Linked DNA regions of Homo sapiens: region 2 is linked to region 1. The links are contacts of gene promoters, found by promoter capture Hi-C in blood cells and fetal thymus (Javierre and others, 2016). All regions are on one chromosome and are shown on one strand. Each heading gives the region's core, a stretch centred on a gene start or on the middle of the fragment in contact. The rest is flanking DNA. Distances are from core to core; before and after follow the strand shown.

Evidence for each region. The method cuts DNA at HindIII sites, captures the fragments that hold promoters and counts their contacts. A CHiCAGO score of 5 or more calls a contact.
Region 2: a contact is called between a fragment that was not itself captured here and the fragment with the promoter of MEIG1 in region 1, in 2 of 17 cell types (neutrophils and monocytes). The highest score is 6.7, in neutrophils.

What each region holds. Positions count from the first base shown.
Region 1 is chr10:14,955,771-14,961,918 of GRCh38, reverse strand. MEIG1 (meiosis/spermiogenesis associated 1) reads right to left here and starts at 2,531. Exons shown (of 3, transcript NM_001080836.3): 1 at 2,362-2,531. RefSeq lists a silencer at 2,259-2,308. The HindIII fragment of the contact is 3,683 bases long and covers 1,557-5,239 here.
Region 2 is chr10:14,610,762-14,616,909 of GRCh38, reverse strand. The region is part of intron 2 of FAM107B (family with sequence similarity 107 member B); the gene reads left to right. Among named protein-coding and RNA genes, the nearest start is that of FAM107B, 160 kb to the left of the region's middle. The HindIII fragment of the contact is 5,880 bases long and covers 1-5,269 here.

The sequences.
Region 1 (6,148 bases), core at 1,282-3,781:
GGAGGATTGTTTGATCCCCCAAGGTTGAGGCCACAGTGAGCTGTGATCAAGTCACTGCATTCCAGCCTGGGAGACAAGAATGAGACCCTGCCTCAAGAAAAAAATGTTAAAAAAATAAATAAATAAAAATAAACGTTTTGGCCATGTGCGGTGGCTCACGCCTGTAATCCCAGCACTTTGGGAGGCCGAGGCAGGTGGATCACCTGAGGTCAAGGGTTCGAGACCAGCCTAGCCAACCTGGTGAAAACCTGTCTCTACTAAAAAAAAAAAAAAAAAAAAATTAGCCGGATGCGGTGGCGGCTGCCTGTAGTCCCAGCTACTTCGGGAGGCTGAGGCAGGAGAATCACTTGAACCCAGGAGACGGAGGTTGCGGTGAGCCAAGATCGCACCACTGCACTCCAGCCTGGGTGACAGAGCAAGACACCATCTCAAAAAAATAAATAAATTTGACATCTAAAATACCAAGTTGTAGCTCCACAAACAGGAAACAGCAATGCCTGAGTTTCTGGTTTGTGAAACTGAATTATATGAAATACTTAGGGTTTATATGCATACAGATGGTCCCGTGGAATGGTTCAACTCATATCTCCACTTTACCATGGTGCAAAAGCAATACGCATTCAGTAATTCGAGTACCCACGCAACCATTCTGTTTTCCACTTTGAATTCAGTATTCAGTAAGTTACATGACATAGTCAACACTTTATTATAAAATAGGCTTTGTGTTAGATGATGTTGCCCAACTGCAGGGGAGCTAAGTGTTCTGAGGACGTTTAAAGTTGGCTAGGTGCATTAAATGCATTTTCGACCTACCATGGGTGTATTGGGACATAATCCCATAGTTAAATTGAGGAGCATGTTATTTTATTTATTTATTTATTATTTTTTTGAGATGGAGTTTCACTCTTGTTGCTCAGGCTGGAGCGCCATGGCGTGATCTTGTCTCACCACAACCTCCGCCTCCCAGGTTAAAGCGATTCTCCTGCCTCAGCCTCCCGAGTAGCTGGAATTACAGGCATGCGCCACCATGCCTGGTTAATTTTTTTGTATTTTTAGTAGAGACGAGGTTTTCCCATGTTGGTCAGGCTGGTCTCGAATTCCCGACCTCAGGTGATCCGCCTGCCTCAGCCTCCCAAAGTGCTGGGATTACAGGGGTGAGCCACCACGCCCGGCCTCGGGCACGTTATTTTAAAAACACACCATCTCGGCGCGGTGGCTCACTCCTATAATCCCAGCACTTTGGGAGACCGAGGCGGGTGGATCACGAGGTCAGGAGATCGAGACCATCCTGGCCAACAAAGTGAAACCCCGTCTCTACTAAAAATACAAAAAATTAGCCGGGCATCGTGGCGGGCACCTGTGGTCCCAGCTACTCGGGAGGCTGAGGCAGGAGAATGGCGTGAACCCGGGAGGCGGAGCTTGCAGTGAGCCGAGATCCCGCCACTGCACTCCAGCCTGGGCTACAGAGCGAGACTCCGTCTCAAAAAACTAAAACAAAAATAAAAACAAAAAACACCATCTCAACTCCCTGACAATCTAAAGTTGGAACAGAAGCTTCTGATGTAGCCAGCCACCCAAATTCCCTTTTCACTTCCCTTTCACTCTGAAAAGCGCTTTTACTTTTAGTAGTATTAAAACTTCAAGAGCATTAGCCTCCCTAATAGTCCCTTTTATTCCTCCTATTAGATTATTTCTGTTCTTAAGAGGCAGCAGGAGGAGCCCTGTAACCAGCACGTAACCTTAGGCAAGGCCATGAACACGCCTGCGCCTGTTTCCTAACTTAAAGAGAAGCATTAGCCGGTCTCTAAGGTCCTGGAACTCCCGTCTGCTGTCGCTGGGCGTTCATTTGAAAGACAAAAGCGGTTCCGAAAGCACGCCCGGCGGTCCCTGCTCTGGGAGTGCTGACCTGCCTGTGTGCAGCACAAAACCGCTCCCTTCCGGCCCTCACAGCTAACCTGCAGTCCCCATCCCTCCAGCTTCCTTTCTGCCATAAATCACTAACTGTGTGGGAGATGAAATCCGCCTGGTGAAGGCTGGGACGGACAAAACACAGTATTCCAAAATCTAGGGCCCAAATCGGAGCCCTCGGAGACGCGGCCCCTAAAGCCAATGGGGTCCGGGGCGGCCCGGAAACTTCCGGGAGAACCGGACCCTGAGATTCTGGAAGGGCCAAATAGTGACCCTCTTCCCTAAAAATCACGGAAGAGACATGAAAACCACGGGATCTCCCTGGCAAACCTCAGGAGACAGCAGAGAACTGCGGAGCCGAGAAGGCGGGGCAAGAACTTCCGGGGTGGGGCTACGGCCGGGGCGCAGGGGTTGGCGGGCAGGGCCCTCGCCTCCAGCGACGCATCCACCCACCCCTGGGTCCGGCTCTACTGGGTTATCCTCGTTCCGCCGAGCAGGAGAGGCCGGGGGCGCCCGGGAGCTTGCAGGCGGGCGTGGGTGCTTGCGTTCTCTACTCGGGATCCGCGAGCAGGGCCAGCGAGAGGCCAAGTGTTGTGCCCTTCGCGACCCTCGCGTCTCTTAGTAACGCGATGAAGCTGCAGGAGCTCCCGGCTCCTTCAGGCCCCGCCCAGCTAGCTCAGGCCCCGCCCCCGGGAGTGGGCTTTTATGCGCATGCGCGAGGGCTGGGGTGGGCGCCGGCCCATCTTACTAAGCCAATGTAGGTCCCAGGTAGGAGCGCTGCCAGGGCTCACCCCTGAGCAGAGATGGAGGGCGAAAAAGGGTTACTTGCCGCTACTTGAATCCCAGACAAAATTCCCTGTGAAAGCGGATCACAGCACGGAGACTGTGTTTGTAGTTCCTGATAGTAGATATCTCCTATCTATTCATTTGCGAGGAATGAACCATTCCAGAGAGTCGCCATAGTGCCTGACAATCAGTAAACCTACAATAGATGATATCTATAGCTTTAATTATTTTTTCTAGCATTATCTATTACTATATTACAGTACTATCTAAGCGAAAAGTGATCAGATTCAAGATATACGGTTTTTTGTTTTTTTGTTTTTGTTTTTTTTTAGACGGAGTCTCGCTCCGTCGCCCAGGCTGGAGTGCAGTGGTGCTATCTCGGCTCACTGCAAGCTCCGCCTCCCGGGTTCACGCCATTCTCCTGCCTCAGCCTCCCGAGTAGCTGGGACTACAGGCACCCACCACCACGCCTGGCTAATTTTTTGTATTTTTAGTAGAGACGGGGTTTCACCGTGTTAGCCAGGATGATCTCGATCTCCTGACCTCGTCATCCACCCGCCTCGGCCTCCCAAAGAGCTGGGATTACAGGCGTGAGCCACCGCGCCCGGCCAATTTACATGTTTTGAATGTAGAGCCATCAGGACTTGTCAAATTGTTGAATGAAAGAAAGGAGCAATTGTGTGCTGGAGCCAGCTCATTAGAGCTCTGGAGACTCAGTAATTAAATTTTTAGGAATTTTTCTGAGCTCGTTGTTAAATACAAGCCATGAGCTGGAGTCAATGAAGATGACAAGGGCCTCGGGCACCTGCCCCAAACAAAACAAAAACACAAGACATATCACAAATTAAATTATATAAACTTCTAAATAAACGAGTCATACTAAAACAAAGGCAATACTTAGTAAAACTAAAAACAAAAAACTATTTACTTACAACTCCCAAATTTCTCTCTTCAGCCCGGTCTTTCTCTGAACTTTAGATTTGTATATCAATGTATATTCAACATCCACTTGATTGTACAAAACAACCTCCCCAAACACCTCCCTGCCAAAACAAAAACAAAAACCCTGCTCCTTCTTCATGTCTTTTAGTAGATGTGGCCTAGAGCCCTCTCTTTCCATATCCATCAATGCAACCTGCTGACTTTATAGCTTCTACTCAAGCCATCATAATTTTTCTTTTTTCTGGTAATTACAACCGTTCCCAACAGCTCTCTATGCCCCCTCTGTAGTCTGTTGTCAACACAACAGTCAATGCAATCTGTTTAAAACCTAAGTCAAGGCCGGGCGCGGTGGCTCACACCTGTAATCCCAGCACTTTGGGAGGCTGAGGTGGGCAGATCACGAGGTCAGGAGTTCGAGACCAGCCTGGCCAATATGGTGAAACCCTTTCTCTACTAAAAATACAAAAGAACTAGCTGGGAGTGGTGGCGTGCACCTGTAGTCCCAGCTACTCGGGAGGCTGAGGCAGGAGAATCGCTTGAACCCAGGAGGTGGAGGTGGAGGTGGAGGTGGCAGTGAGCCGAGATTGCGTCACTGCACTCCAGCCTGGGCATAGAGGGAGACTCCGTCTCAAAGAAAACAAAACAAAAAAACCTAAGTCAAATTATGTCAGTCCTCTGCTCACAACCCTGCAATGGCTTCCCATCTTATGGAGAGTGAAAACCAGAGGCTATACATGGTGAGCAAAGCCCTGTAAGATTTGCTCACAACACCCTCCCTCCTTCCTCTGTAGCCCCGGATCATTCTGCTGCAGCCACACTGGCCTAACACTGCCTAGCACACAGTAGGTGCTAAAGGGATATATTTTGAATCAGTATATTTCATCACTGCCCTTCCGATGCTGTGGAGGCAGCATGGCACGGTGGCTAGCAGTGTGTTGTCAGAGAGCACAGTGTCTAAAAGTGTGGTGGCCTTCTTGGATTTAAATCTGAGCTCTACTTACTATCAACATGACCCTGGACAAGCTACTTAACCTCCGTATCCTCAACTGGCAAATGAGGACAGAAAGTGTACCTATCTGATGGGCAGGTAGGATGTGAGGATGAAATAATGAGTATAAAACACTGATAACATCTGGAACTACATAAATGGTAGACAGTAATTACTTGCATTAGAAGGTACACTCCCACGTCCACAGGGATTTTTGTCTGCTTTTTTAGTTTTATTTTTTTGAGACAGGGTCTCTTTTGTCGTCTAGACTGGAGTGCAGTGGTGCCATCTTGGCTCACTGCAATCTCTGCCTCCAGGTTCAAGTGATTCTTGTGCCTCAGCTCCCAAGTAGTTGTTATTGTAGGTGTACCACCACACCCGGCTAATTCTTTTTGCATCTTTAGTAGAGCTGGGGTTTTGTCATGTTGGTCTTTAACTCCTGGCCTCAAGTGATCCACCTGCCTTGGCCTCCCAAAGTGCTGAGATTACAGGCAGGAGCCACCAGGATGGGCCACATTTTTTGTCTACTTTGCTCACTACTGTATCTTTAGTGTCTAAAATAGTGTCTGATACACAGTAGATGGTCAGTGAATGATTTGCTGAATGAATTAAGCTTCACCATCACATTTCCTGCAGTATTGCAGCAGCTTCCTACCTGAATTCCTGCCCCAGACTTCTTGAGTGTTGTGTTTTTTTGTTTTGTTTTGCTTTCGAGATGGAGTTTCGCTCTTGTTGCCCAGGCTGGAGTGCCATGGTCCAATCTCGGCTCAGTGCAATTTCCGCATCCTGGGTACAAGCAATTCTCCTGCCTCAGCCTCCTGAGTAGCTGGGATTACAGGCCCCTGACTCCATGCCTGGCTATTTTTTTTTTTATTTTTAGTAGAGACGGGGTTTCCCCATGTTGGTCAGGCTGGTCTCGAACTCCTGACCTCGGGTGATCCACCTGCGTCGGCCTCCCAAAGTGTTGGGATTATAGGCATGAGCCACCACACTGGCCCTGAATGTTCTTTAGACTCGAATCCAGTGGTTCTCAAACTTTAGGGTCCATCAGAATCACCTAGAAGGTGTGTTAAGCTGCAAACTGCCAGGCCCCACTCTCCCAGAGTTTCTGATTCACTAGGTTTGGTCTGGGCTATGCTTACCTATCTTGCCTATTTTCTATCCTGTCTTTCTCTTTGTCCTGACTCTATTTCCCTTTGTTTGTACTGTATCCATTGTGGAAAGAGGAGGAGATAAATAAGTGAGCAAATACATAAGATCACGAGCATTAACTTGACCTGCCTTTCCTGGAGCTCTACCGTGAGATTCTTCGGACACTAGACTCACAGCAGAATTTGTTGTTAGGTCTCCATAACCCTGCCAGGGCAGTTGTTCCCATGTGTTCTAAGACAAACCATCAAAGGTGTTGCCAGTAGTATACTAGCAGGATATTTTACCTCAATTAGTGATTATGTTGTGTATACCTTTCCATGTCACCCCTCCTCCCCCTCCTCAAGATTTCATGGAAATCTGTATTTGAATAGA
Region 2 (6,148 bases), core at 1,080-3,579, 340 kb after region 1:
TCTCCCTGTGTCACCCAGGCTGGAGTACAGCGGCACAATCATGGCTCACTGCAGCCTTGACCTCCCAGGGCATCCTCCCACCTCAGCCTCTGAAGTAGCTGGGTCCACAGATATGTGCCATCACACCCAGCTAATTTTTGTATTTTTTGTGCAGAGGCAGGGTTTCCCCATGTTGCCCAGGCTGGTCTCCAACTCCTGGGCTCAAGCGATCTGCTTGCCTTGGCCTCCCACAGGGCTGGGATTACAGGCATAAGCCACTGAGTCCAGCCTCCTTACTCTCTCGAGTGTGCCTTTCATTATTGCTGTTCTTACTCTGTAAAGTTTTGTGTTCTCCAATATGCCTAGAAGAAAGTCTGCCACAAAATTGCCAATAATATACCCACTGGGTCTTTCCATTTTTTTATACCAGGCTGACCTAGGCAATGGAACAATACCTTTTATCCATTTCTTGGTGTGATTACAGCTCAGGCATATTCATTTTCAACCTCATTAATAGTCCCCTGGGCTTACTTTATGTCATCAGAAGAGGAGTGAGAATTATGGAAATCTCAGTAAAAACAATGCCCCTTGTCTTTTCATTTCTGTGGTGTTTTTGAAGCTCGAGTTTCCAGTAGCTCCATAGAACTGCTAATCAGATTTTTTCCTGTATATAAAACTGAGTCTTAAGAAGAGTCATTCCAACAAACATGCAACATGCCCTTAGTTCAGCTTTATCAAAATTTTCAATAAAGATACTCAGTTCAGTCATCCACAAGCAGGTCAATATTATTATTATTTTTTTAAAAAGCCACTGTCCTTAAGGCTCTTTATTTAACATAGCAGGGACATATCCAACCTCTTTTAGAAAGTTTTAAAATAATTGTTACAAAATGTTTGAAGGAATAAACTATTAAGGGAAGTTTTTGTGATTCTTTTATACAATTGGGAAGTATGCCTAAGTAATTCCGTCATATTTATTTTTAATTTAATTTGATAAATATCTATCTAGCTCTGATTATGAAGTACTTATTGTGCTAGGCACTAAAAAAGATTAAAACATTGATTCCTGCCTGCCTTCAAAGTTGACAAGGTAATTAGGGAACACATACAAAAAATTATTGCTTAGGACAAATAAGAAGTTTGTTAGCTTCTCGAGTATGGAATGGTGCTTTTTATTTAACTTACTCTGTTCCCAAATCTAGCTCACTCCTTTCCACACAGAGATACTTAATAAGTAATTTATAAATGCTCAGTGCTATTAAAAAATTAAATAAGCACTTGGTCTAGGTTATAAAAGTTAAGGAAGGCCTTGTGGCAGACCTAAGATTTGAACAGAAACTTAATGCATGGGCAAAACTTGGATCTGCTAACAGAGGGGAGGAAGAGCATTTCTGCCAGAGGGAACATCATGAATGAAGATTGGGAGGTGGAAGTGGGTGTATTTATGCCTCACAGGAAACTTGGCTAGAGTAGAGTTCACTTCAGCAAGGCCTAGGCTTAATGTCCAGAAGACCAAAAGATATCCATTAATTCTCTCCCTACAAGATCGTTCCTATCAGCTTATAGAAAATTATTTGTTTCTGCCTTTTTTTTTGTTTTTTTGAGATGGTGTCTCACTTTGTCACCCAGGCTGGAGTGCAGTGGCATGATCTCAGCTCACTGCAACCTTCACCTCCCAGGTTCAAGTGGTCCTCCTGCCTCAGCCTCCCAAGTAGCTGGGACTACAGGCACATGCCACCATGCCCAGCTAATTTTTGTATTTTTAGTAGAGATGAGTTTTCACTATATTGGACAGGCTGGTCTCGAACTCCTGACCTCAAGTGATCCACCCACCTCGGCCTCCCAAAGTGCTAGGATTACAGATGTGAACCACCACACCCAGCAGTTTCTGCCATTTTTAAAAACAAGCAAAACAGTGAAACAAAACCTTTCTTGGCCCTGGATTCCCCTCCGTCTACTACCCTTGACAAAGCTGCCTATACTAGCTGCCTCCAATTCCTCTTTTCCCATTATGTCTTGAAGCCACTCCAGCCAGGTCTTCACCCCTGCTGCTCCCCGAGTGATTCTTGGGTTGGTAAACAGTCCCTGTCTCGTGTAACCTGGTAGCAGCGTTTCACAAAGGTGCCCATCACATCCTCTCCTGCTTGAAACCCTGGTCTCACTTGGTTTCCAGGTTTCATTCATAGCTCCCTTGGGTCCCATTCACTTTCACTGGCCATTCCTTCTCTAAGTCTCTTTTTTTTTTTTTTTTTTTGAGACAGAGTCTCGCTTGCTGTGTCACCCAGGCTGGAGTGCAATGGCACGATCTTGGTTCACTGCAACCTCTGCCTCCTGGGTTCAAGCAATTCTCCTGTCTCAGTCTCCCGAGTAGCTGGGATTACAGGCATGCGCCACCATGCCTGGCTAATTTTTGTATTTTTAGTAGAGACTGGGTTTCACCATGTTGGTCAGGCTGATCTTGAACCCCTAACCTCAGGTGATCCACCTCCCTCAGCCTCCCAAAGTGCTGGGATTACAGGCGTGAGACACTGCACCTGACTCCTTCTCTGTCTCTTTTGCCAGTTCCCAGCAGCTCCCCGACCACTAAATGCCAGAGCGCCCTGGGCACAGGCCTCAGTTTCTCCCTTGGTGGTGAATGCAGGCTCCTGGCTTTCAGTATCACACACACACTGATGGCTTCTGATCGTGCTCAGAGCCTCTAAGAGCCCACAGGACCTCATGTGATCTGTGAACCTCCCAGGACAACGACTGTTTAGGGGGAAAGAAAGAAGCAAGTTCAAATTGTATTTATTTATTTATTGAGATGGAGTCTCACTCTGACGCCCAGGCTGGAATGCAGTGGCGCGATCTTGGCTCACTGCAACCTCTGCCTCCCACGTTCAAGCGATTCTTCTGTATCAGCCTCCCGAGTAGCTGGGACTACAGGCGCCCGCCAACACTCCTGACTAATTTTTGTATTTTTAGTAGAGATAGGGTTTCACCATGTTGCCCAGGCTGGTCTCGAACTGCTGACCTCAAGTGATCTGCCCTCCTCGGCCTCCCAAAGTGCTTGGATTACAGGTGTGAGCCACTGCCCCCAGCTGACTTTGAATTTTAATAAAAGAAAAGCCAGTCGTCCAGCTTTGAGGGAAAAGCGTTGTATAATTTGTTTTACTAGATTAGCCTAGCTGATGTGGCCTGTTTGTGAGATGACTTGAGTCATAGTGTATGCTTGTGTGGGGCAGACGGAAGGAAAGCAGTATTAGTGGATATGCACTCTGAGGATTGTGTGTCTGTGGGCCAGGCAGAATTTGATAGAGATGGAGAGAAAAATGTAGATTTGAGAGAAATGACAGAGAAAGCAATGTCTTGGTTTTGTCGCCAAAGTAGATGTAGGGCGTAAGTGAGGAAATTAAGATTATCTTGAAGTTTGTGCAGTGAAAAAACTGTCAGGTTAGTAAGGAGGCATGGGGTAAGTAAGGAAGTTCTGAGTAAGAAGAGAAGTTCTGCTTTTCATTAGTCACATGGATAAACTGTCTTTTAAAAGATTATGAATCTCTCCAAATCAAGCTAAGAATGGTCATGAGCAAATCATTCTTAAAATCAATTTCCGTACCACTAGGTTTCTATTGTTCTATGATAACATTTCAATTGCCAATTCAATTCATTGAAAGTTTATGGGCTCGGTGAGGTGGCTCACACCTGTAATCCTAGCACTTTGGGAGGCCAAGGCAGGCAGATCACTTGAGGTCAGGAGTTCGAGACCAGCCTGGCCAACGTGGTGAAACCTTGTCTCTCCTAAAAACACAAAAATTAACCGGCCATGGCGGTGCACGCTTGTCATCCTAGCTGCTCGCGGGGCTGAGGCAGGAGAATTGCTTGAACCTGGGAGGTGGAGGTTGCACTGAGCTGAGATTGCGCCGCTGCACTCTAGCCTGAGCGACAGAGTGAGACTCTGTCTCAAATAAATAAATAAAATTAAAAAAAGAAAGTTTACCTATTTCATCCTGAGTCACTTTGTAGCGACTTGTATTTTTCTAGGAATTTTTATTTCATCTGCATTTCCAGACAAAGTTGCTCATCATGGTTTTGTATGCTGTTTTTAGTTTTGGGGTATCTACAGTTATGTCTCCATTTTTATTCCCAGTCTTTTTTACTTGTTCTTTCTCTGTGTGTCTTTGTCTCTCAGCCTGTCACTTATCATTTTGGACAAAGGTCTGTTATTTTCTTTGGTCTGTCAAAGACAAGGACAGTTCTATCATATCTTTGTATTTCTTTATTTTGTCCTTGTAATTATTTGTGTATGAAATGATACAAATGATAGCAAATGGCTGAAGCAATTGTTGCAGAGAGAAATGAGCTGAGAAAAGCAGGTGCCTGTCAAAGTACAGTTTCCTGCAATGTGTGTTAGCTGTGGACTTAGAAAAAGGAGGCCACCAGAACAAGCTGGAATCTTGGACAGGGTAAGTAAGGAAGGACAGGGCAGGTTGTTCTGAGTGCTGATGGCAACTGAGAGACGAACAAGGAGAATTGCAAAACCTTTCCAGAAACTGCCCTCAGCTGCCCAAGGACTCTGTCCTTCCATCATGCATTCATTCTCTCTTTTTCCTTATAAAGTTCCAACTTTTATTAATATTATCCAGCTAACACTAACATTAGTTAGGATTTTAGTTCATGTTAAATTTGGTGGAACAAATAGAAGAATGTTATTACTTGAACAGCAGTTTTAAAAGTCCAGTAATCATTAGCAGTTCAAATGTGTGGGTCACACACTTCTCTAAGCAGAGTTAATAAGTAAACCTTCTCTGGCACGATTTAACATTAGCTGCAGTTTGAACTTTACTTCTAAGATTGGAGTGGATCACACAGCTCTCTCTTCCAGACAAGCCTGGGGAGCACAACAACTAAAGCTGGAACTTTTTATATAAATAAGGACTTATGTATATAACATGTATATATATTTATACTCATACATACACACACATACACATATACACACATGTATAAGGACATATAAATGTTTTATATGTATGAGGATATAAATATATAAATATATGTATTTTGTGGCTGAGAGTGACTCCCAGCTAATAACTAGCAAGGAAAAATTTATGCATATATATTTTTATACATATTTATAAATGAATGAGCTTAGAAGAGGACCTTGAGCTCCAGACGAGATGAACTATGAGCCCTGCCAAGATCTTGATTTTGATTTTGGGAGGCCTTCAGCAGAGAATGCAGCCGTGCCACTTCTGGACTACAGAAATAACTATGAATTCATTTACTGTTAAGTCCAGAGGAAACTGAAGCTTTGGATAAGTTTCTTATCCGAGGTCACCAGGCAGATCTCTTTAGTCCTAGCCTAGCCTTCCTTCCATTCTTCCATGAACTTATTTTATTGCAATTAATAGAAGTTAGGTGAATATATATATATATATATATATATATATATATATATATATATATAAAACTGGCATTCAACTAGTTATTAATAATATAAGCATTCCAAAGGATACTTCCCGCTAATGGAAATGTCTGTATCTAGAGCGAATATCAGAAAGAAGAAAAAAAAGTTGGAGCAAACTGTAGAATGTTCACAGAAATTTGGCCATTTGTATTGTATGTCAGTTATTTGAATTAGGAAATTTACAGAAATTATCTTCATATTGCTTAATTGCAGAGATGGTTTGTTTACTCATTAGTGTCGACCATTAAGTTACCTTAATATTTTTGACAGGATGAGCGCTTAAGGATTTTGTTCCCCTCTCTTTGCTATTTAGAGATTTTAGTTTTAATACACAGGAAGACTCTCAGGAAATCCTTTTTTCTGGTTTTGGATTCATGTAAAGAAAAAAACGTAAAATGCAGATCTTTGCATCATTCAGTAGTCGTTTATGTGAGTAACAGCTGTTTCTCTCGATTCTTCGCGATGTGCAGTTACAAGTTAGAACCACCATTTCATAGAGTCCCTTTGATTTTAAAATTGTGAACAATGAAAAGCAAGTGTTCTTTAAAAACGAAATTAAGTGTTTTAGGCAGTACATATATTAAATGTTTGGAAAATAAAACTCTCCTGAATTTTTAAACTCTCTAGAATTGGCAAAGTACTCAGTTACATTATGAAATACAGCTCTGTTTTGGAGCTTGCAAAATGCTTTTGTAGTGGATAACTACTGCAGGGGACAATACT